Regions from separate parts of the Homo sapiens genome. Here regions 2, 3 and 4 are each linked to region 1. Evidence: promoter capture Hi-C in 16 types of primary human blood cells and fetal thymus (Javierre and others, 2016). All regions are on one chromosome and are shown on one strand. Each heading gives the region's core, a stretch centred on a gene start or on the middle of the fragment in contact. The rest is flanking DNA. Distances are from core to core; before and after follow the strand shown. Region 1 holds the start of COX5B (cytochrome c oxidase subunit 5B). Region 2 overlaps INPP4A (inositol polyphosphate-4-phosphatase type I A). Region 3 holds the start of INPP4A (inositol polyphosphate-4-phosphatase type I A). Region 4 overlaps CNGA3 (cyclic nucleotide gated channel subunit alpha 3).

Evidence for each region. Contacts are between HindIII fragments. The CHiCAGO score rates a contact against its expected background, and 5 or more counts as called.
Region 2: a contact is called between a fragment that was not itself captured here and the fragment with the promoter of COX5B in region 1, in 1 of 17 cell types (neutrophils). The highest score is 5.1, in neutrophils.
Region 3: a contact is called between a fragment that was not itself captured here and the fragment with the promoter of COX5B in region 1, in 2 of 17 cell types (neutrophils and fetal thymus). The highest score is 6.1, in neutrophils.
Region 4: a fragment that was not itself captured here is called in contact with the fragment with the promoter of COX5B in region 1 in 2 of 17 cell types (total B cells and fetal thymus); the score reaches 6.6 in total B cells.

What each region holds. Positions count from the first base shown.
Region 1 is chr2:97,644,072-97,649,281 of GRCh38, reverse strand. COX5B (cytochrome c oxidase subunit 5B) reads right to left here and starts at 3,220. Exons shown (of 4, transcript NM_001862.3): 1 at 3,093-3,220; 2 at 2,142-2,215; 3 at 1,839-1,938; 4 at 899-1,286. The coding sequence starts at 3,195. The coding sequence ends at 1,174. RefSeq lists enhancers at 3,116-3,295, 3,476-3,525, 3,328-4,262. The HindIII fragment of the contact is 14,381 bases long and covers 1-5,210 here.
Region 2 is chr2:98,459,950-98,465,159 of GRCh38, reverse strand. The region is part of intron 1 of INPP4A (inositol polyphosphate-4-phosphatase type I A); the gene reads right to left. Among named protein-coding and RNA genes, the nearest start is that of INPP4A, 18 kb to the right of the region's middle. RefSeq lists enhancers at 1,115-1,164, 1,351-1,866, 4,380-4,439. The HindIII fragment of the contact is 1,937 bases long and covers 1,175-3,111 here.
Region 3 is chr2:98,440,132-98,445,341 of GRCh38, reverse strand. It overlaps INPP4A (inositol polyphosphate-4-phosphatase type I A), which reads right to left and starts at 484. Exons shown (of 25, transcript NM_001134225.2): 1 at 257-484. RefSeq lists a silencer at 15-654. The HindIII fragment of the contact is 723 bases long and covers 2,568-3,290 here.
Region 4 is chr2:98,383,598-98,388,807 of GRCh38, reverse strand. The region is part of intron 5 of CNGA3 (cyclic nucleotide gated channel subunit alpha 3); the gene reads right to left. Among named protein-coding and RNA genes, the nearest start is that of CNGA3, 40 kb to the right of the region's middle. RefSeq lists a silencer at 523-710 and enhancers at 4,271-4,846, 4,847-5,210. The HindIII fragment of the contact is 559 bases long and covers 3,011-3,569 here.

The DNA.
Region 1 (5,210 bases), core at 1,971-4,470:
AGGAAAGGGCCTTAAATGGCAGGTCAGTGCTTAGACATTTCCTGGACACAGGTCATGAACAACAAGGATGGAAGCAATAGCTTTGACTACACCTTCAGGATGGGCAAGATGAGGGGAAGGGGCTTTTCTCTGACTCTATCAGCTCCCACTGAAATACCTACTTTCGACCAATTTTGTGAAGATAGTAACTGAAGCCACCTCTGGCTAATCTCCACACAAAATGAAAAGGTATTTCCATTTTGTAGGTAAGAGGGTTTTGAGATTTTAACTTGTCCCAAGGTGTCACAGGTATGAAGCAGCTAAAGTGGGCTTTTTTGGCATTTCTCCCCTCCCTTATTCCTGTGCGTATCTCAAGCATTAAAAAAAACAAAACAAAACTATATAAATACCTGAAAGGGTGGTAAATGTCTACATATCAAATATCCAGAGTTCAAATTCTTCTCAATTTTTTTTCCTTTATAATTGTTTTCAAATCAAGATCTAAACAAGGTGTGCATGCTGCTGACTGGTATCTCCCTTATCTGTTTCTCCACATGTTCTCCCTAGCTTTTCCCCCCACTCCTTGCAATTTATTTGAAGAAACATGGTCAGTGATTTCTGAAATTGTTCCATATTCTGAATTTTGCTGCTGGTATCCCCATGAATTCTTACTTTGCACCTGGGTCCCTCAAGACTTCAAAATCCCCAAAACTCTCTTCACAAGGCCACCCTGTCTCTATGAGGATACTGTGAGGACCTACTATCCACTCAGCTCTTTACATATTAAGCACCTTGTAAGGTACTTACCTTTTTGTAGTTGTACTTGACCCCCAGAGAACATGTCCACAGAGATAGAGCCAAATGATGGAGCCAATATTTTAAGTCCTGTCAGCCTGACTCCTCAGCCCGCCCCTTTCTCTCATACCAGGTGGTCCCATTCATTGCATTACGGGTTGTCGATCTATTCTTATTATTAATCTAAGCACTATACACTGGTTATACACTTTCAGTAAGTGGATGGCAAGCTAGCATTAACAGACAGCTTTTCCCAAAATAAGCATATTCCATGCCTACCAAAGAATACGGGTAAGAAATAAGACCAGCCATCTATGGGAGAAGGAGCCAATGCAATGGCTAGTCTTTACTGGAAAGAAGAAACTTTACAGCACATTTTGAGTAATTTAGTGCAGGTGCTCAGTGTGCCAGCTGCTGGGGCACCAGCTTGTAATGGGCTCCACAGCGGGGGCATCGCTGGGCCTCGCCTTTGTGCAGCCAAAACCAGACGACGCTGGTATTGTCCTCTTCACCTAAAAGGGAAAAAAGGTGGTTTATGGTCATCCAACCTAGAAAGGGAGACTTTCAACATGAATTTCTTTTCCTCAGACATCTCTGATACACAAGTAAGACTATGGTTGATATCTTAAGAGATCAGTTCAAGCCCTCCTCCCATTCTTCAGATGAAGAAATTGAGGCTCTGAGTTCACCTATGAGTAAACTGACCTTGTATCAAGGTCACTGTAAATTCTAACAATTCCCTTGCCTATGTAGAACGCAAAGCAGGGTCCGTTCTGGTATGTATCCCTAGTGTCTAAAATGATGCCTGGCATAGAAGCAGTATAACAATAAATATTTGCTGGGTGGGTACTCCTTCATGCCGCACTCCCAGTGAGCCAGTCTTACCGCTGTGCTGCGCTTCTTTCCAGTAAGGATGAACTATCAGGCATAATGAGGCTTGAGAGTGTCAAGACCCTTAGACAAACTTACCAACATGCACTCACACACTGAAGATTTGAGGCAGCTTACACACTATTGTAGGATATATTAAGCAAGTGGATAAAAAATAGAGGTGAGGTACTTACAGATGCAGCCTACTATTCTCTTGTTGGAGATGGAGGGGACTAAATTAGGGTCTTCCCTGGTGCCTGAAGCTCCCTTTGGGGCCAGTACATTGTATGGGTCCTGAAGAAAAAACAAAAAACAAAACAAAACAAAAAAAACAAGAATTGAACCATTAGGCCAAATAAGCCCTACCTTCCAGAAGCTCAGGGGACTGTTCCTACAAGCCAAGTTTCCTGTATCAAATACTCCCAGAGAGGAGACCACTATGAACACATCCAAGGCCATAAGTTACACAGAAGACACAGAAGGGAGTTTCTCCTTACCAGTCCCTTCTTTGCAGCCAGCATGATCTCCCTCTCCAACCCAGTCGCCTGCTCTTCATCAGTGGGAACACCACCTAAAGGAAGATAACGTGAATTATGACGCTGACTGAAATGACTGATAGAAAAACTACAAACAGAAATGATCAAGGAAAATGGTGCCCCGAAACTTCTGTATAAGTTTTAGCGGGCTCACAAGCTCCTAAAGGCTACTCATATCCATGGTCCCCTAAGAACCACCAAGTACCCATCCACACAAGCGGCAGCACTCGGGGGAGCTTTTTTTTTCTTTTTTGAGACGGAGTTTTGCTCTTGTTGCCCAGGCTGGAGTGCAATGGCGCGATGTTGGCTCACGGGAACCTCCGCCTCCCGGGTTTAAGCGATTCTCCTGCCTCAGCCTCCCGAGTAGCTGGGACTACAGGCGCGCGCCACCACGCCCGGCTAATTTTTGTATTTTTAGTAGAAACGGGGTTTTACCATGTTGGCCAGGCTGGTCTTGAGCTCCTGACCTCAGGGGATCTGTCCGCCTCGGCCTCCCAAAGTGCTGGGATTACAGTTGTGAGCCACCGCGCCCGGCCTATGAGCTTTTCTTTCTCCAACCACCGAGGCAAATTTGTCGACATTTGTCTAAAAGCATGTAGAACCCACTCTGCTTGAGGTGGGCGCAGGTTTGAAGGGAGGCCGGACCCCTCCCCATCCCGGTGGCAGCCCCGGTCCCTCCCAAGGTCACCCGGCACCTCCGTTTAGGATACTTTCGCAGCGGAGTGAGTTCGGGGAGCGGCAGGAGCAGCGGTCCAGAATTACAGGGAGATGCCTGCAGAGCCTGAGGCACTGGGGACCGTAAAGCGGCCACTGGGACCTCGAGAAGCTGCACGAGCCGCGCCGCTTTGCCGCCCTGGGACCACCCTGGGAGGGCAACACTCTGGTCCCTGGCACGCCCGGAGACCCGAGTACCTCCAGATGCCATGGAGCGCATCGCGGCCGCGCCACTGGGGCCGCGAGCCCTCAGGGCCTGCGCGGCCAGCGTTCCAGCTCCGCGAAGTAACCTTGAAGCCATTGCGTCCGCGACTAGCAGCAAAACTTCCGGGAACAAGCTGCAGAGACAGGAGGGACTTCCGGGGGCGGGCTTCTTTCTCCTCTCGGTCAGCTTTCGGCTTCCTCCCAGCCCTCGAGCCCGCCCACTCCCAAGACTGTGGCGGGGGCGGAAATTGCGCATGCCCAGCTCTGCCTCTTTCTGCACCGCGTAGTGGCTGAGGCTTGGGGGCGGGGTTGCCTTTAATAACGCTGGGAGGTGGGAAAGTCTTTTTGGTCCCTGGAGTTGAGCGGCTGAACCACATTGGAGTTCCTGTGGGTCTGGCCCCGTAGTCGTGTTCAGCAAACGTGGAGGCTGCTAATGGAAGCTATTAGGTCCCCGTCTGTGAAGAGACTTACTGAACCCCAAATGATTTGAATTTAGAAGTGGGCTCCTAAAGATCACTGCGTTCCTTACTAGGCTGGTTAGTGGCAGGGCTGGTTCTGGCAGTGCGTGGGCCGTCGCGAGCGTGTCGCATTGGACGGGACCTACCTGCAGTCCTGGCCCAGTTTCGTGTTAGAGTTGTACTGTGTGTGGGAGGCGCGGAGGTCCCGGCCTGGGGAGGAGGACAGGGCCGGGGGCGGGACCCCCTACCAGGACCAAGGCCCTGGTGATGTGAAGGAAGTGGCCACTCTTTTTCGAGGCTACTAAGGGAGGAGGAGCAGGAAGGGGAGTTGATAATAGGAAATGGAGTTAGAGCCTGCTGTGACTGGAGTTCCTTGTTTGAAACGGAAAACATATTCCGTCCATGGCTTCCCGTTGCCCATAGGCTAAGATGTGCAAATTTCTTAGGGTGAGCTTTAGTCAGTATAGCCCTGTGACAGGCTAGCTGCATGCGGTATCTGAGTTTCCCTACCAGATAGAAAAATCCCCTTAGAGTGGGAATTAATGCTCATCATTGAATCTTCAATGCCTTGCAGAGGTCTGGTATATAGTAGGATCCAGTAATTTTAGTAAATTTACTACTTGGATAGAGTATACAAAACCAGTTTATAGGGCTTTTCCTGGCCCAGTGAGGTCAATTGGAGGCAACATGGGGAGAGTTGAAGGCTTAGGTGCTCCCGCCTGTCTCATGCAGGCTACGGTATTTTCAAAAGGACGTGGTGGAGCGTTGCTTCACAGGAGCACGTCTGGTCTTCCTGGGTGCCCCCTCCACCAATTAAAAAAAAAAAAAAAAAAACCCTGTATTCTAAGGCCAAAATTTCTTTAAAGGTGGTTTTTGCTTTGAATGGCTTCACTGTTACTCCCTTCTCCCTCACCTCCACTGCAACCCCTCCAAGTTGAATTGGGCGAAAATTCTGAGGATCTGTAGTTAATTTGCAACTGTGGTTAAGGTCTTAGGCAGGAGAAAAAAGCATTGGTCTGGAAAGTAGCCCCACCAGCTAGTTCAGCTACTTTTTATCCTTTGGGCCGCCATTTCTACATCAGTAAAACTGTCGTTCAACTAGGTTAGTATTTCCCAAAGTGTATTGCATGGCATCCAAGTCTCAAGACATGATCTCAAGAAAAAGGACTTGGTCAAGACAGGGAGGGCCTGCATTTGATGACCACCCTTTTGGAGATGGACACTAGCATAATAAAGGCTCTGATTAGGCTTGCAGTAAAGACCTCTTATTTAATTTACCTGCAGTTTAAGCCAGAGTTTCCCTGTCTTAATTGACCACAAAATCCTTTCTGAGGAACACCTACTAACTTGCCCCTCAGCAAACCAGTGAGGTATTCAGCTCTGATATGTTATGATTCCCTGCTGCCTGACCAGAAGTGGTTTACTCCAGGCTATAAAATGGAAATTGAGTTTAGGCTTCTCACTCTCATAGTAGGCTTGCCTAATAATAGGAAATTTTCGCAGGCCCTCATCCAACTCAGGAAAACCTCAGCCTCACTCTGGGATTATTTAGATTGTGTGAGTGAGCTCCAAGGTCAGGTCCAGGCTCCCCAGATGTCCCCGCATCCCTTGCTGCTTCCAGCTCCCACCACTGTCAACTCACACCCAGTCCCTC
Region 2 (5,210 bases), core at 894-3,393, 820 kb before region 1:
TGAGAGAATAAGTTCCTTTCGCTTTAAGCCACCGAGTTTGTTACAGCAACCACAGGAAGCTAATACAAGGGATTAAAAGGGAAGTGGATACAAAGCAATCAGCACGCTATCTGGCACGTGGTAGGAACTCGAGAATCCCCATTAGTGAAGGACAGTTCCTGACATCCTCCCTGGGCCACCAACCCATCCTCAAAAGCTGTGTGAAAACCTACAACCTTGTACTGCAATAACGAGCTCTGTACTCTGCTCACAAAAGCTCCTTCGTGTGTATCGTCTCAGTTGATTCTGTCCTAAAAAGGAGTTTCCAAGGTTGTCCAAGGACTCTCGGCTTGTCACATATAAATACAACACTGCCACAGGCCTTGTCTTCAACATTCAGTTCAATTAGTTAAAATATTTCACAGGATGGCCTCTGCTGATATCTCATGGAGCAGACCCTCCTGATCTCAGGCATCATGAGCTGTGATCAGGGCCATCTTACCTTGCAGAAACACAGCACAAGTACTTCTCTCAGCCACAGGCCTTGCAACTGTCAACAGAGAAGCTGGTGCCGAGTTCTGACATGGGAACTGAGAACTCTGCCCCTGTCAGGGCAGACATGGCAGAAGAAGAGGCTGGGCAGGCAAAAAAAGACACTGGCTAGCACTTGACCTTCCAAACTGCTTTTCAGCTTGACTCATGCAAAGAGGTTTATCTCTCCCCTAAACCCCCTGCTTTTTGTTTCTTCAGCCCTTGCTCTGTGCACCCCCACTCTCGATTTTCCTCTTTGAGGAGCGAGTCCCAAGTGTCGAAACCCACCATGTGCAATAATTCCACTTCCTCCGTCGTGCTCGGCCTCCATCATGCAGACCCTGGGGCCTCAGCTTCCCCTGGGTTGCTGCGAGGATGTGGCCCCATGAATCTGACGGCTCTCCTGCCCTCCCCTCTGCCCCATTTTGTTCGAGACTCAGGGCTGTGCTGTCCCAACCTTCCCCAGCCTGTGCAAGATTTGAAGACTGTCCCCTTCATCAAGCCACAGCAGCCCTCAGCCACAAAGAGCTCAGGGTGGAGCCTCAAAACCTCAAGAGTATCTTAAAGAAAAAATGAAGAAAAAGAAGAAGCCTATTCACTTCCTAAAAACAGCCATCTGCAGGCCCTCTGAGATATCTTTTTTGCACCCATTCTTCTACAAGCTTCTGCCAGCGCCAGGTTCACTGGGTGGAGACCGTGTACCCTAAGCCAACTGACTACTGACCACTATCAGGCAGGAGACAAGGGCTGTGCACGGAGCGAGCAGAGACTGGAGGAAAAGCTGCCTCAGCATTCCTCAGCCCCTGGCACCGCATGCAGCAGACCCTAGGGCTAACAGCTCACACCTACCAGACCTTCACTTGACCATGGACGCTCATGGCTCTGGTCTGCCCTAAATCCCGCACAGGGGCTTGTAAGCAGTCTCGCAGGCACATGCCTGTGAGCCCTCCGCAGGTGGCTACTACTTCCTGCTCTCCTACAGACAGACCCCAGGGCCAGCTCCACAAGTCAATTCCTTTGTGCCTGAAAACTACCTGCTGCGTGAGTGAATGAGAAGGGGCAGGTGTGCTCCCAGTTGGTAACTTTGCATCACCTCGCCTGTGATGAATGACCATGCCATATCACAGATTCAGAAACTGAAGACCACCAACCAACATGACTCCAAAATGTACGTGCAACGTGCTGCCCAGGCCGTTGCCTTCCCTCTGAGATGTAGAGCACCTTGGTTGGAACAGCTGAAATGCTGGGAGGGCATGGCCAGAACCAGCCTCAGCGAGACACCATCACAGCTGAAATGTAGACTTCCACACAAGCACTGTGTGTTCCTGGGCCTGGCTGTCATTAAGGTCCCTGCAGAACCATCTGCCCTTGCACCTGCAGCTTGAGTTGGCCGCTTGATAGGCCAGGCAGAGGAAAGCCCAACAGAGCCAATGTACCTGAAACTGGGGTCAAAAGCAGCTTTGACAAGCCTCACTCAGGATGCTACAGGTTAGTTTAAAATGTCTGTGGGCTGGGCGCGGTGGCTCACGTCTGTAATCCCAGCACTTTCGGAGGCCGAGGCGGGCAGATCATCTGAGGTCAGGAGTTCAAGACCAGCCTGGCCGACATGGTGAAACCCCGTTTCTACTAAAAATACAAAAATTAGCCGGATGTGATGGCACACACCTGTAATCCCAGCCACTTGGGAGGCTGAGGCAGGAGAATGGCTTGAACCCGGGAGGTGGAGGTTGCAGTGAGCCAAGATTGCAACAGAGCACGATTCTGTCTTGAATAAAAATTTTAAAAAATTAAAAATTAAAAATAAATAAAAAATAAAATGTCTGTGTGTTGGCTGGACATGGTGGATCACACCAGTAATCCCAGCACTTTGAAAAGCTGAGGCAGGTGGATTGCTTGAGCCCAGGAGTTCAATACCAGCCTAGGCAACATAGCCAAACCCACAAAAAAAAATTAAAAATTAGCCAGGCATGGTGGCATACACCTGTAGTCCCAGCTACTCAGGAGGCTAAAGTGGGAAGATCACTTGAGCCTGGAAGGCAGAGGCTGCAGTGAGCCATGATCCTGCCACTACACTCCAGTCTGGTTGACAGAGTGACACCCTGTCTCAAAAAAAAAACAATAATAATTAAAAAAATAAAAGGTCTGTGTGTAACTAGAAGGTAATATTTTATTTTATTTTTATCTATTTATTTATTTATTTTTGAGACAGAGTCTCCATCTGTTGCCCAGGCTAAAGTGCAGTGGCACGATCTCGGCTCACTGCAACCTCTGCCTCCCGGGTTCAAGCGATTCTCCTATCTCAGACTCCTGAGTAGCTAGGACTACAGGCGCCTGCCACCACGCCCAGCTAATTTTTTGTATTTTTAGTAGAGATGGGGTTTCACTGTGTTAGCCAGGATGGTCTCGATGTCCTGACCTCATGATCCGCCCACCTTGGCCTTCCAAAGTGCTGGGATCATAGGCGTGAGCCACCACGCCTGGCCACTAGAAGGTAATATTTTAGAGACATGTGCCTTACAAATAGTATCTAACCATTAACTGCCCATTTCCCAAAGAAAACCCTACAGGCCAGGTCATAATTGAAATAAACGGGCAGAAGCTTAAACACGTCGTCTAACCCCACCCTCTTTTTCCAGCTAGAATGATGCTCAATCCAGCCAGAGCCTAGGCCCAGACCTCAGAGCAAGGGGGGTGCAGCTTCCTTCACAAAACTAACGTATTAGTGTGAAGCACAGGCTGGAAAGAAGCTAACAGGCATCCAGAGAGCACTGGTTGAAGAATCTGCAGCACAGCCTGGCAGCAGGCCAGCATGCAGCTGGACAATGGAACACAAAACTCCTTGTGGGCCAGTGAAACCGTCAGAAGAGGCACACAGCGAGCACGCAGCATGGCACCAGGGATGTGGAAAACTGTCTCATGTCTGCACATGCAGGCCTGCTGGCATATACACAGCATAACTTCAGAAAAAAACCCAACAAGCACATGGCATTGGTGTCTTAAGGGAGGGGACATGGATGGCTAGAGGATAGGGTAGGAAACAGGCTTTACCACATATCCTGCTATATTTTACAATTTTTAAGCCATGAAAATGTTTGCCTATTAAAACATAAAATGTTATCAAATTTGTCAAACCAAGTTAAGTACAGGGAGGTTTTTGAGAAGTCTCTCCAAGAGACATTAGTGCACAGCCAATAAGGGGATGGAAGATTTCAAGGAGCCCTGCTCTGGGGCAGGCACCCCTGCAGGTGACAGAATCAAAGCTAGGCCCACACCTGTTGCTGGCAGTGACTGCCACGGCCTTGGCAATGAGCATCCCTTGCTCTCCGCCCTTCACTTCCTTCTTCTCTGACTTGTCTCCTTCCACTCTGTTTGCCTCCTCTGCCATGTCACTACATCATGTGGCATAGTGAAGTCTATATTCCAAGTCAGAGTCCCAGTTAGAGATGGAGGGTGGTGTGGCAGAACCATGAGCCAACCCCCGTCCCTGTAATCATCTCTCACTACCAAACCACCCCCTCGCCAGCTACTGGCTCACAGGCTTGACTGTGTCTTTTTGCACTGCACCCACTGTGCAGATACCCCATGAGGTCACGGGAAGGGCGTGGCTATGGAGAAGATGGAACCGGCTGCAGCTGCCCAGCCAGCTATTTCACACTGTAGGGAGAGCCCCTGAGACAATTAATACCATTTCTAGAAACCAGCATTTCTGGGTTTCTTTACACCCCAATGCTTCCTCTTCCTCATGGTGTTTCAGCACAGTGTTTCACAGGTGGATTAGAGGGGGCGCAGACGATTCTTCTCCAATGCTGGGTTTCATTTCTGTCATTTCACAGATAACAGCTTCACCCCTGACCCCATGGGTGCCAGGGACACCCTGCCCTGTGGTCTGCATTGTGGACATCCTGCAGCAGGACCCACTGCCACACAGCGCTGGGTGAGCCGCAGCATCCACAACTGTAAAGCCAACACAGAGCGGAGACAAGGAGGCCAAGTCGCGGCCCACAATCCCCTAAAACTGGTGGTTAGAGCACAGGCATTATTGTAAGAATTACTATGATCCAAGAAAGGGTCTCCCCAAACCATGAAAATGACTATGGAACTGCTTCTGTCACTTAAAGTAATGACACAAACAAAAAGAATGAAAGAGTCTTAAAAAAGTCTGACACCCTCCAGTGTGGGATGAATGAATTCCCAAACTTTACAAAAGGCCTGAAGGGGCTCGAGCCCCCCGGGTGATCTGGCCCTGCCTCTCCTGAGCCTCCTTCCTGATGCATTGCCCCAGTCCCTCCTCATTTATCTCTGAAGACCCCCAGGTTGAGCCACTGCCCTTCCATGACACATAACTCACCCTTCCCTGAGGCCCTGTGATGCTCCCCAAAACCCACAAGAGGAAGAGGCCACCTTTCCTGGGTGCCCCTACCCTACTAGGCTTCTCTGCACCCTTGCACCTATAATACCACACTTGCATATATGTGTACATGTATATGGGGAAAATTTTTACTTTTAATTTTAAACATACACACACACACACACACACACACACACACACGATGACCAAACCCAAAGGTGTGGCACCTTCTCACCCAGAAGTGGAAGCAGACCTAGGTTCCAGCCACCTGGACAAAAGGGCTTGTGTGCCAAGGATAAAAAAGGTCACTGCTGAGAACAGGCTTCTGCCTTTGACTCAGCAAACTGACAGT
Region 3 (5,210 bases), core at 1,680-4,179, 800 kb before region 1:
GCTCGGCACCCGGCTCCCTGCTGGGGCGGCCGCGTCTTCACGGGGCTGGGGGTCGGCCGGGCTCGGATTGTTCTCAAAAGACGCCACCGCAGGTGGACCACTGGCACCGTTAGGCAGTGCAATTTCCATGAAAACCGCGGGCGCCGTCCACATCCGCCCCAGCGGGGACCTGGACGCGCCCCCGCGCCCGCTGTCCGTCCCCGGCCCCGGCCCCCGCGGCGGCCGCGTCGCCTCCTGCCCGGCCCGGCCCACCTACCTGGCGCTCCCCGGCCCCCGGCGCCAGCCGCCCCGCTGTCCCGCCGGGCTGCGCGCCAGAGCCCCGCAGCAGCAGCAGCGCCGCCGCCTGGCTGTGAAGTCGCGGGCTGCGGGCCCGGCCTCAGGTGCTGGTCCTCCTGCCCCGGCCCACGGAGCCCGACCCGGCGGCAAACCAGCAGCGAACCCTCCACGCGCGCCGCAGCCCTAGCCAGCCGCCGCCGCTCTAGACGCCGGGCGCAGCCCCGCCCTGGCCCCGCCCCCTTGTCGCGCATGCGCGCTGAGGGCCCGGCCCGCGCCCTGCGACCCCCGCCCCACTACCAGCCCGAGCTGGGTCCGCCCTCTGAGACAGTAGGGCCGGTGACCGAGCTGCTCGCGCCAATTCCTACTGCTAGGTTCCCACAAGATCCCACCCTATCCTGTGACTGCTTCACCTGCAAGGAGTTCTTGAACTTCTGGACTTGACTGAGCGATGGCATCTTCACCCTGTCATCCACTGAGGCATCTGAGGCCCTGACGGATCCCCAAGGGAAAGTTTCCTGGAGGAGCCGCGACCCGGGGATGCGCCCCCAACCTTTTGCCCTCCGGACAAGAGCACTTCCTGAAGTGCAGACGTACTCACTCCCCAGGAGATGTTTAGGAAACTGAACATTCCAACCAGACAAGCAAAAAATTAAAATCTTAATTCTTTGAAAATACAGACTTGCAAAAAAAAGAAAATTGCTAACCTCTAAGTGTATGTCCTTCCGGACCTGTTCTGGCCTGTGTGCATAAGTGTGCACTAACAGACTTGCAACAGCATCAGTCCTTACACTTTGCCCCAAGTTTCTATTTTTCCATAGACAAAAACAATAATCAGAAGTTTTGGAAGAAAATTTTCACTTTGACTTTAAAACAGCATTTCTCCTTGAGCAAGGGCAAATACTGGACTGAATGTATCCTTATCTTTGAGTCTTCACATTTTATCCGAAAAAAAAATTCTTAAAATGATTTTAATTCAATAAACCAGAATACTTCTCAGGCAGAGCATTTAAACATATAATTTGCTTCAAAAACAAAAGAGATTAACCAGTTAGGAATGGAAATTAAGAATTCTCTGAACTCATTTAGAATTATGTCTGATCCTCCTCATGTCACCAAAATACAGACAATAGTCTGGAATAAAAATAAACAAATATAAAACGAGTTTTTTGGGGAGCCTGAGGCAGGAGCATCGATTGAGCAGAGGAATTTGAGGCTGCAGTGTCAGCCTGGGAGACAGAGCAACACCCTGTATCTCTAAAAAAAAAAAAAAAAAAAAGAAAAGAAAAGAAAAGAAAAAAGAAAAAGAAAATGTCCTAGTTTTAAATTTTTATTTCTTTACTTTTTATTTTATTTCTCTTCTGAAAAGTAACTTAGTAATAAAACAGTTCCCTCTTATTATTTCTCCAGCTAAATGGAAAGAAATATTGACAGAACCTTGACTCCACAGTACAAAGTTAAAGCCAAGAAAATCAAATTTGTAGAAATGCAAAAATATTTTTGCATTTTTTTTAATTACTGTGACCAATTAGTTTGCTTGGAACAGCCCCAGTTTACATCTTTTTGCAGCAAAATTATTAATAGGGCCCTCTTTCACTCTCAAATGTATTCCTGTTCAAACAATAAATTTTATGGCCATGCTGTTTATTTATTTATTTTTGGGATGGAGTTTCGCTCTTTTTGCCTAGGCTGGAATGCAATGGCGCGATCTCGGCTCACCGCAACCTCTGCCTCCCAGGTTCAAGCAATTCTCCTGCCTCAGCCTCCCAAGTAGCTGGGATTACAGGCATGTGCCACCACCCTGGCTAAATTTGTATTTTTAGTAGAGACAGGGTTTCTCCATGTTGGTCAGGCTGGTCTTGAACTCCTGACCTCAGGTGATCCACCCGCCTCGGCCTCCCAAGGTGCTGGAATTACAGGCGTGAGCCACCACGCCTGGCAGTCATAATCAAGCTAAGAAAGTTGTTAAACACTAACTTTTAAAAAAGAAAAAAAAATTAAATTTATAAAGATTTAAAAATAGATATCAGTCTAATTTCAGTATTCATTCATTTAGTACAGTAACACTGAATGAGGATCAGCTTCCAATAACATCTGTCACTTGACTGTTATGTAATTCTGGATAATCTTCAAAGATCAATCACATTTTCAGTGTGGCAAAGAATGAGGCCCTAATTCCACCGTAGAATGAAAATTATCAAGAGAAAAGGGAGCCATGTGTTAGTTAATACTGTAAAAGGAAAATAAAATCTCGGGACCCCCAAACTCACTACTCCAAAGGGAAAAGCTAAGCTTGGGAACTGAATCATGCAAAAAAAACTGCCTTCCTTTTGTTCCTAAAGAGATAGCTGCAAGATAGAAGGCCACATATCTCCCCAGGTGGCCTCCCTCACCCTGACAATGTAAATTAACAGCTTATCGTCACAGGAATGGGACAAAGACAAGCGGAGGAATCATCCTTCCACCCACCCCAAGACAAATGCATATTTGACCTCTTCCTCTACTCTCTGTTTACTTACCTTATGTAAAAATGCATAATTCACTGTTCTTCTTTCCCCTCCTGCCCACTTTTTCCTCTTTAAGTATTGAAGTCCCCAAAACCCTCTTGGGAAAAAGCATAGGCCACAGATCCTACTGATCCTACTGTAGTTTGTGCCTCATTTTCCCAGTTGCATCCTCAACCTTGGCAAAATAAACCTCTAAATTGACAGATCTGTCTCAGACACCTTTTGGTTTACAATATCATGCTATATCTTCCCTAAGCATCACGATGTGATAGCTAAGTATGCTGGTGGTAAAGTATCTCAGTCCTTCAGAAGTTCTCAACATGGGGTCCCTAACCAGTCACATCAACATCCTCCCAGAACTTGCTAGAAATGCAAATTCCCAGACCCCATCCCAGATCTGCTGAATCAGAAACTCTAGAAGTGGGGCCAAGTGACCTGTATTTTAACAAGCCCTCCAAGGGATTCTGATGAACATACTGACTTAAATGATCTATATACAATAAGTAAGCTTAAGGGAGGGGACCACCCCTCATATTGTCTTATGCCCAATTTCTGCCTCCAAAGAAAGAAGAAGTAAAAACTGAAAGGCAGAAATGAAATCCACAGGCAGACAGCCCAGCGCCGCGCCCTAGGCCTGCTAGTTAAAGATTGACCCCTGACCTAACCAGTTATGTTATCTATAGATTCCAGATATTGTATGGAAAAGCATTGTAAAAATCCCTGTCCTGTCCTGTTCCATTCTGATTACCCGTGCATGCAGCCCCCAGTCATGTACCCCTACTTGCTCGATTGATCATGACCCTCTCACACGGACCCCCTTAGAGTTGTGAGCCCTTAAAAGGGACAGGAATTGCTCACTCAGGGAGCTTGGCTCTTGAGACAGGAGTCTTGCCGGTGCTGCCGACTGAATAAACCCCTTCCTTCTTTAACTCAGTGTCAAGGAGTTTTGTCTGTGGCTCGACCTGCTGCAAGCTGATTCAGATTATCTACATACAATAATTAAGAGGTGAACAGTGTTATCTTTAGGACTAGAACCATCCTACATGAGAATTTATCTTCAGGCCATTTAACAGGATATTTTTGTAGGGATACAGTCAGCTATCCAAATCTATGGTTTCCACATCCATGGATTCAACCAAATCACAGATCAAAAATGTCTGGAAAAAAAAATCGCATCTGTACTGAACTTGTATGGACTTTTTTTTCTTGTCATTATTCCTTAAACAATAGAGTATAACAATGATTTACATAACATTTACATTGTATTAAGTATTATAAGTAATCTAGAGATGATTGAAAGTATACAGGAGGATGTGCATAGGTTATATGAAAAAAACTACCCCATTTTATATAAGGGACATGAGCATCCATGGATTTTCATATCCACCAGAGGTCCTGGAACCAATCTCCCATGGATACTGAGGGACGACTACATAGAATATGTGTAACCTTGAGGCTGAGCACGGTGGCTCCACCTGTAATCTCAGCATTTGGGGAGGCTGAGGCGGGAGGATCACTTGAGGTCAGGAGTTTGAGACCAGCCTGGCCAACATGATGAAACCCTGTCTCTACTTGAAATATAAAAATTAGCCTGGCATAGTGGTGCATGCTTGTAATCCCAGCTACTCAGGAGGTTAAGGCACAAGAATCACTTGAACCCAGGAGGCAGGGGTTGCAGTGAGCCTGGGCAACAAAGTGAGACCCTGTCTCAAAAAAAAAAAAAAAGAAGAAGAAGAAGAAAGAGTATGTGTAACCTTGAAAACCAACAGCCCTGCAACCATAAGAGCAGTCTAGCAGCCACTGGAGGGACAAAAAGGATGTGGAGCACCTGAAAGAGCCCCATCCCCAGAGTCTTGGCACTATTTACTTGTCTGGCAGCTTCCTGGAAAAGCTACATTCCCAGGGTTTGTCTTTAATTGGCATAACTCAGAGCTTGCCCTGTGCAAATGGTCCTCTCCACAGGGCATTGTTGAAAACAATCAGTAACAATTGTTTAATATTACAGCAGCCTCAGGTAGTGACACCAGTTACAGCTAACAATAGGCTGACTGAAAAACTTGAAAAAGAAAAATGAAGAATGAGATGTCCATGGGGAGGGGGCATTAAAAAGATTTAACATAAGCTGCCTGGTGGCACATGCCTATGGTCCCAGCTACTCAGGAGGCTGAGGTGGAAGGATCACTCGAGCCCAGGAGTTTGAGGCTGTAGTGTGTTATGATTGCACCTGTGAATAGCCACTGGACAACATAGCAAGATCTCAACTATGCTATGGGCAACATAGCAAGATCTCATCTAACAGAAAAAAAAAAAAGATTAACATATTTCTGGAAATCTGAGAATGCCCAGGTTTTACTTCTGGCTAACTGTGAGGCTTTGAGCAAGCAGGATGTGAAGGCTGAGGCAAAGCTGTGAATTGTCTGCCTGAAAATT
Region 4 (5,210 bases), core at 2,041-4,540, 740 kb before region 1:
TGGGACGTTCCCTACAGCTCTCATCACCACTGAATTTGGGTGAAAGTTTGTGAACATTGTATCTTCCAGTGCCCCAGAGAAGCCCTCAGCCTACGTGTGGCCGGCCCACTTGTGAGGGCAAACGAAATGCTTCGGGTGGGGGGCACATGAGCAGGCTCACAGGGGCAGCCCCCGGCTGCCCACCGGAGGCTGCAGACAAGCAACTCTCTTTACTTATAAGCCCCCCTTGAGTTCCCGGAGCTTGGAGAGGATTCTTTCTGCAAGATGGGGGCTTCACATGGTCTCAGGAGGCATGGTCTGCAGCCTGCTGGGACCGACTTTTCCTCAGCTCCAAGCACCCTCTCCCCTCCAGGGCCGAAGCTAAGGCCCCCTGATAGCGTTGCTCCAAGATACCCAGCCCTGGAGCCCTGCAGGGAGGGGTCAGGCCTGCTGGGACCATGGCACCCCGTCTTTAGAGGCAGCTTCCTTCAGTACTTCCTCCTCGTGTTTTAGGTAGCTTTTCTCTCTTCTTTTTTCTCTTCGTTCTTTTCTGCCTTGCTGCTGGATGATGCCGGGGCACATTTAGCAGACTTCATATATCAAGGACATTACCAAATGGAAGGGGCAGGCTGCTGCGTCCCGGAGAGAGGGCGTGGCGTGTGGCGTCGTGGAGACGTCCTGAAGAGAGGGCGTGGCAAGGGGTGCTTCCAGCGCATTGGGATGAAATGGGGTTATTGATTTGTTATTATTATTCCTGAAGCGTGAGGTAAACCACCCCATTGAGTATACATTGAGAAATTAGTGGCTCAGTCTAATGTTCTACAATTTCTGATCTATTTTCATGAGCTCCTGGGAAGTCACAAACAGCCAGAGACTGGAGACGTTTTGAGGTAGTACGACATAGACCCAAATCCACACATTGAAGTTGGGAAAGTTACTCGGAGTTTTGGAAATCCCACGCCAGGCTCTCCGTTCTGAATGGAAGGGTGTGGCCTGTCCGCTGTTCTTGAAACCTCTCTCTGGATCAAGTGAAAACCTGGGCCTTAATGAGAAAGCCAGTGAGCAGAAGGGAAGCAACATTCGAAGAGGCGGGTCTGTGACGCATGTAGTGGCAAATACGTGTGGTCGCAGGTTCGCAAATGTGGCCGAGTTCAGACACGCCTTCGGACTTTGCTGGGCTGCGAGACGGTTCAGGCAGCGTCCGCAGGATGGTCCTGTGACTGCAGGTTTTTCTTCAACATAAGACTTCACACTGCTGCCTCTTCTTTATTGGGTGTCTTTTAAGAGCTAGGAACTCTTATAAAGTTATCTAATGAATACATGTAAATTTCTTCAAGGCAGGCAGTAATGCCCCATTGAATAGTTGAAGAAACAAAGGTTGCGGAAGGGACAACCCCTCGAGTCCCCTTCAGGCCCCTCTGATTTCTCTCTTCCACACGCTGAAGGAAGGCATGGTTGAGAGATAAATTCTGCTAATTAAACACTCATTGAAAAAGATCCATTCACAATTACCTAACACTTCCTATGGAAATAATCAAGGCTGTGTGCGATACGTGTGGAAAAATAATCACTGCCATTATTCATGACAATCAAAAAGGGAGAGCCACCGAATCACACGACCATGCAGGCTCATCCTCAACGGTGAATTCTACATGGCCACTTAAAACGCTGTTTCAGAAGAGCTAGTGACGTGGGAAAACGGTTCCTAATATTTTGCTAAGTTAAGAAGCAGACTACAAAAGAGTTTACCGTAATAGCTGGATCAGTTTTCTATTTCTGCCGGAACAAATTACTGCAAACTTATACAACATAAATGTATTATCTTGCAGATCTGTAGGTCAGAAGTCTACTGTGGATCTCACCAGACTAAAATCAAGGTGTTGACAGGGCTGCCATCCCCCAGAGTCTCTAGGCGGGGCTCTGATTCCTGCTCGTTTGGATCTTACGCAGAATCCAGCTTCTTGCGATTGTGGGGCTGAGATCCCTGTTTCCCTGCTGGCTGCACCTTTCGAGGCTGTGGCTTCCTTAGCTCAGGTCCCCTTCCTACATCTTCAAAGCCAGCAGTGATGGGTCGAGTCCCCCTCACACTGTGACTCTCTTCTTCTTCCATTTACTTTCTCTGACCCACTCTTCTGCTTTTAAGGACTCATGTGATTACAGTGGGCCCACCCTGATAATCCAGGATAACCTACCTGTATTAGTCTGTTCTCATGCTGCTAATAAAGGCATACCCGAGGGTGGGTAATTTATAAAGGAAAGAGGTTTAATGGACTCAGTTCCACATGGCTTGGGAGGCCTCGCAATCATGGTGGAAGGCAGATGAGGAGCAAAGTCACATCTTACGTGGCGGCACGCAAAGAGTCTGTGCAGGGGAACTCCCCTTTACAAAACCATCAGATCTCGTGAGACTTATTCACAGCATGGGAAAGACCCACCCCCATGATTCAATTACCTCCCACCAGATCTGTCCCGACACATGGGAATTAGAGGAGCTACAATTCAAGATGAGATTTGGGTGGGGACACAGCCAAGTCAAATCATTACCTATCTCAAGGACCTTGAATGTAATCACATTTACGAAGTTCCCTTTGCCATATGAGGTAACCTGTTTACAGGTTCTAAGGATTAGGATGGTAGACATCTTTTGGGGGAGATTGTTCTGCCTACCACACAAGTCAATATTTATTGAGCACTTACTATGTACCAGGCACTGTTCTGAGCACTTTTCACAGAGTAACACATTCAGTCTTCACTCCCACCATGTAATAAGACCCTATTACAATCCTTATTTTATAAGCCAGGAAACAGATACACAGAGAAGTTAGGTAACCAGCTTATGTGGTTTGAATCTGTGTCCCTGTCATGGTGGTGGATTTCTCATGGTTTGGCACCAATTCCTTGGTGCTTTGCTTGAGACAGTGAGTGAGTTTTCTTGAGATCTGGTTGTTTACGGCACCTACCCCACCTTCCTCCTGCTCCTGCCGTTTGAGACTCCTTGCTCCCCCTTTGCCTTCCACCATGATTGAAAGCTTCCTGAGGCCTCCCCAGAAGCAGAAGCTGCTATGCTTCCTGTATAGCTTGCAGTACCTCAAGCCAATTAAACCACTTTTCTGATAAATTACCGAGTCTCAGGCATTTCTTTCTAGCAATGTGAGAATGGACTAATACACTTGTCCAAGGTCACAAAGCTCTGAGGCAACTGAGTTGGGAAACAGATGCTCTTAACAAGTATATGTATATATAAAATATATTGTATCAATCTAAGTATTCAATATATATGCCTAGGAAGAAGTTGGAAGTATATTTGTCAACATGTTAAGTGGGGCTATCTCTGATAGTGGAATTCCATGGTTAGCATGAAGTGCAGTTTTTGTGTGTGTATGCCCCTGTGTGCTTTTCTTGTTTTCCAAGTTTTCAGCAAGAGTATTTCAATAAAGTGAATTAGAATAAAAGGTTATTAAAATCATTAAATGAAAAGAGCAAGGAAAGTTACCCCTCCTCTGTCCTCCAGGGTGATGTGAACCCTGGTCTCTTTTCAGGCACTGGAGTCTTAACGTCAAGTCACCAGCAGACGGCGCTGCCCTCAAGCTTTTTGGGTGAGCTTTGCCCTGCAGTTTACGCCGGACTCAGCTTGCCTTGTGCAAGATTTGTGGCCCTGGATTACGGGCCTTGGCCTGTCTGGGTACCAAACTGCTGAGAGCCTAGGAAAGACCCAGCACCATCGGCTGCATCCCCAAATCCACCCAGCACTGCCCCAAAAGAACCCTACACAGAACTGCAAAATGCTGCTGGTTTTGGCTGGGAACAGTTTGATGGGGGAGGGAAAAATTATTCAGGACAAATGAGACCATATGAAAATGACAGAAATGGAGTGAAGAGTCGGGGAAGGTGTTCATAAATAATTATTTTGTGTGTGTCCTCATTTTGGGATAGTTCCCAGTTTTGTCCCTTGGTCCTTGGCTTCAAAGTGGACCAGTGAAGTGAGCCCATTTATTGAAAGATTGAAGAGCCGGGTGCAGCCCACGCTATCCACCCACATCCTTGCCCACACCCCAGCCCCAGGACAAAGATGCCTAGAAACCCCCAGGACCTCTGTCCATGGTTTCAGTATCTGGAGCCGTTCCCTGCCTGAAAGACTTGATACTGCAGCTGCAAGGGTGTTTAGTGTCAGGTTTGGCTTTAAGTCAAACACATATCACTATAGCTATTGCTTTGTAGATAAAATCATCTCATTTTTCGTTATGGCTGGCATTTGGGTCTCTGGATTTGATGTCCAAATTTATGCAAACAAAAGACATGCTTCCTTCATGGAGAAAATAGAAAAAAGTTCTAGCTGAGGAACAAAGAGAGAAATAACAAGAAAAACCCTTGGCACATTTCTCTGTCTGTTGGAAGTCAAGAAATCGGCATTTCTCACTGATATAGGTATTTTTTCCCTAATCTCCAACTAAGACTTCCCCTCCTGAATAGTGCCACGCTGTCCCTAATCTGCCACCTTAGTATCTGGTGATGGAAAAAGGAATTATAGCAGGTCACCCTTTGAAGAGGCTATTCTCTGGACATATTTAAATTGCCTTTTTCCACTGCTCTGATTACGCCCCCAAAATTGGCCCAAATTGGCCTTAAAACACGGGAACTTCAGGCGAGGCGCAGTGGCTCATGCCTGTAATCCTAGCACTTTGGAGGCCGAGGCGGGTGGATCACGAGGTCAGGAGGTCGAGACCATCCTGGCTAACACGGTGAAACCCCCCCTCTCTACTAAAAATACAAAAAAACTAGCCGGGTGTGGTGGCGGGCGCCTGTAGTCCCAGCTACTCGGGAAGCTGAAGCAGGAGAATGGCGTGAACCCGGGAGGCGGAGCTTGCAACGAGTCAAGATGGCGCCACTGCACTCCAGCCTGGGTGACAGAGCAAGACTCCATCTCAAAAACAAACAAACAAACAACAATAACAACAGCAGCAAAAACAAGGGCATTTCACTGGCACTCAAGAGCCTGAGGTTGTAGAATAAGAAAATGCCTTTTCATCATTAAGGAGAATCTCCAGTGCTCTGTCAAGGAACTCCGGTTCTGCACCCTCAGATATATCGTGGTATAGAGTGCTAAAGCTTAAAGCATTTATCTGATCCAATTCCTTTGCTTTATGGATGAGAAAAATGAGAGGCGAAGAGATCAGACGACTTCCCCAAGAAGTCACACAGATCTCATCCCTCCCCGACTTCTGTCCACAGGG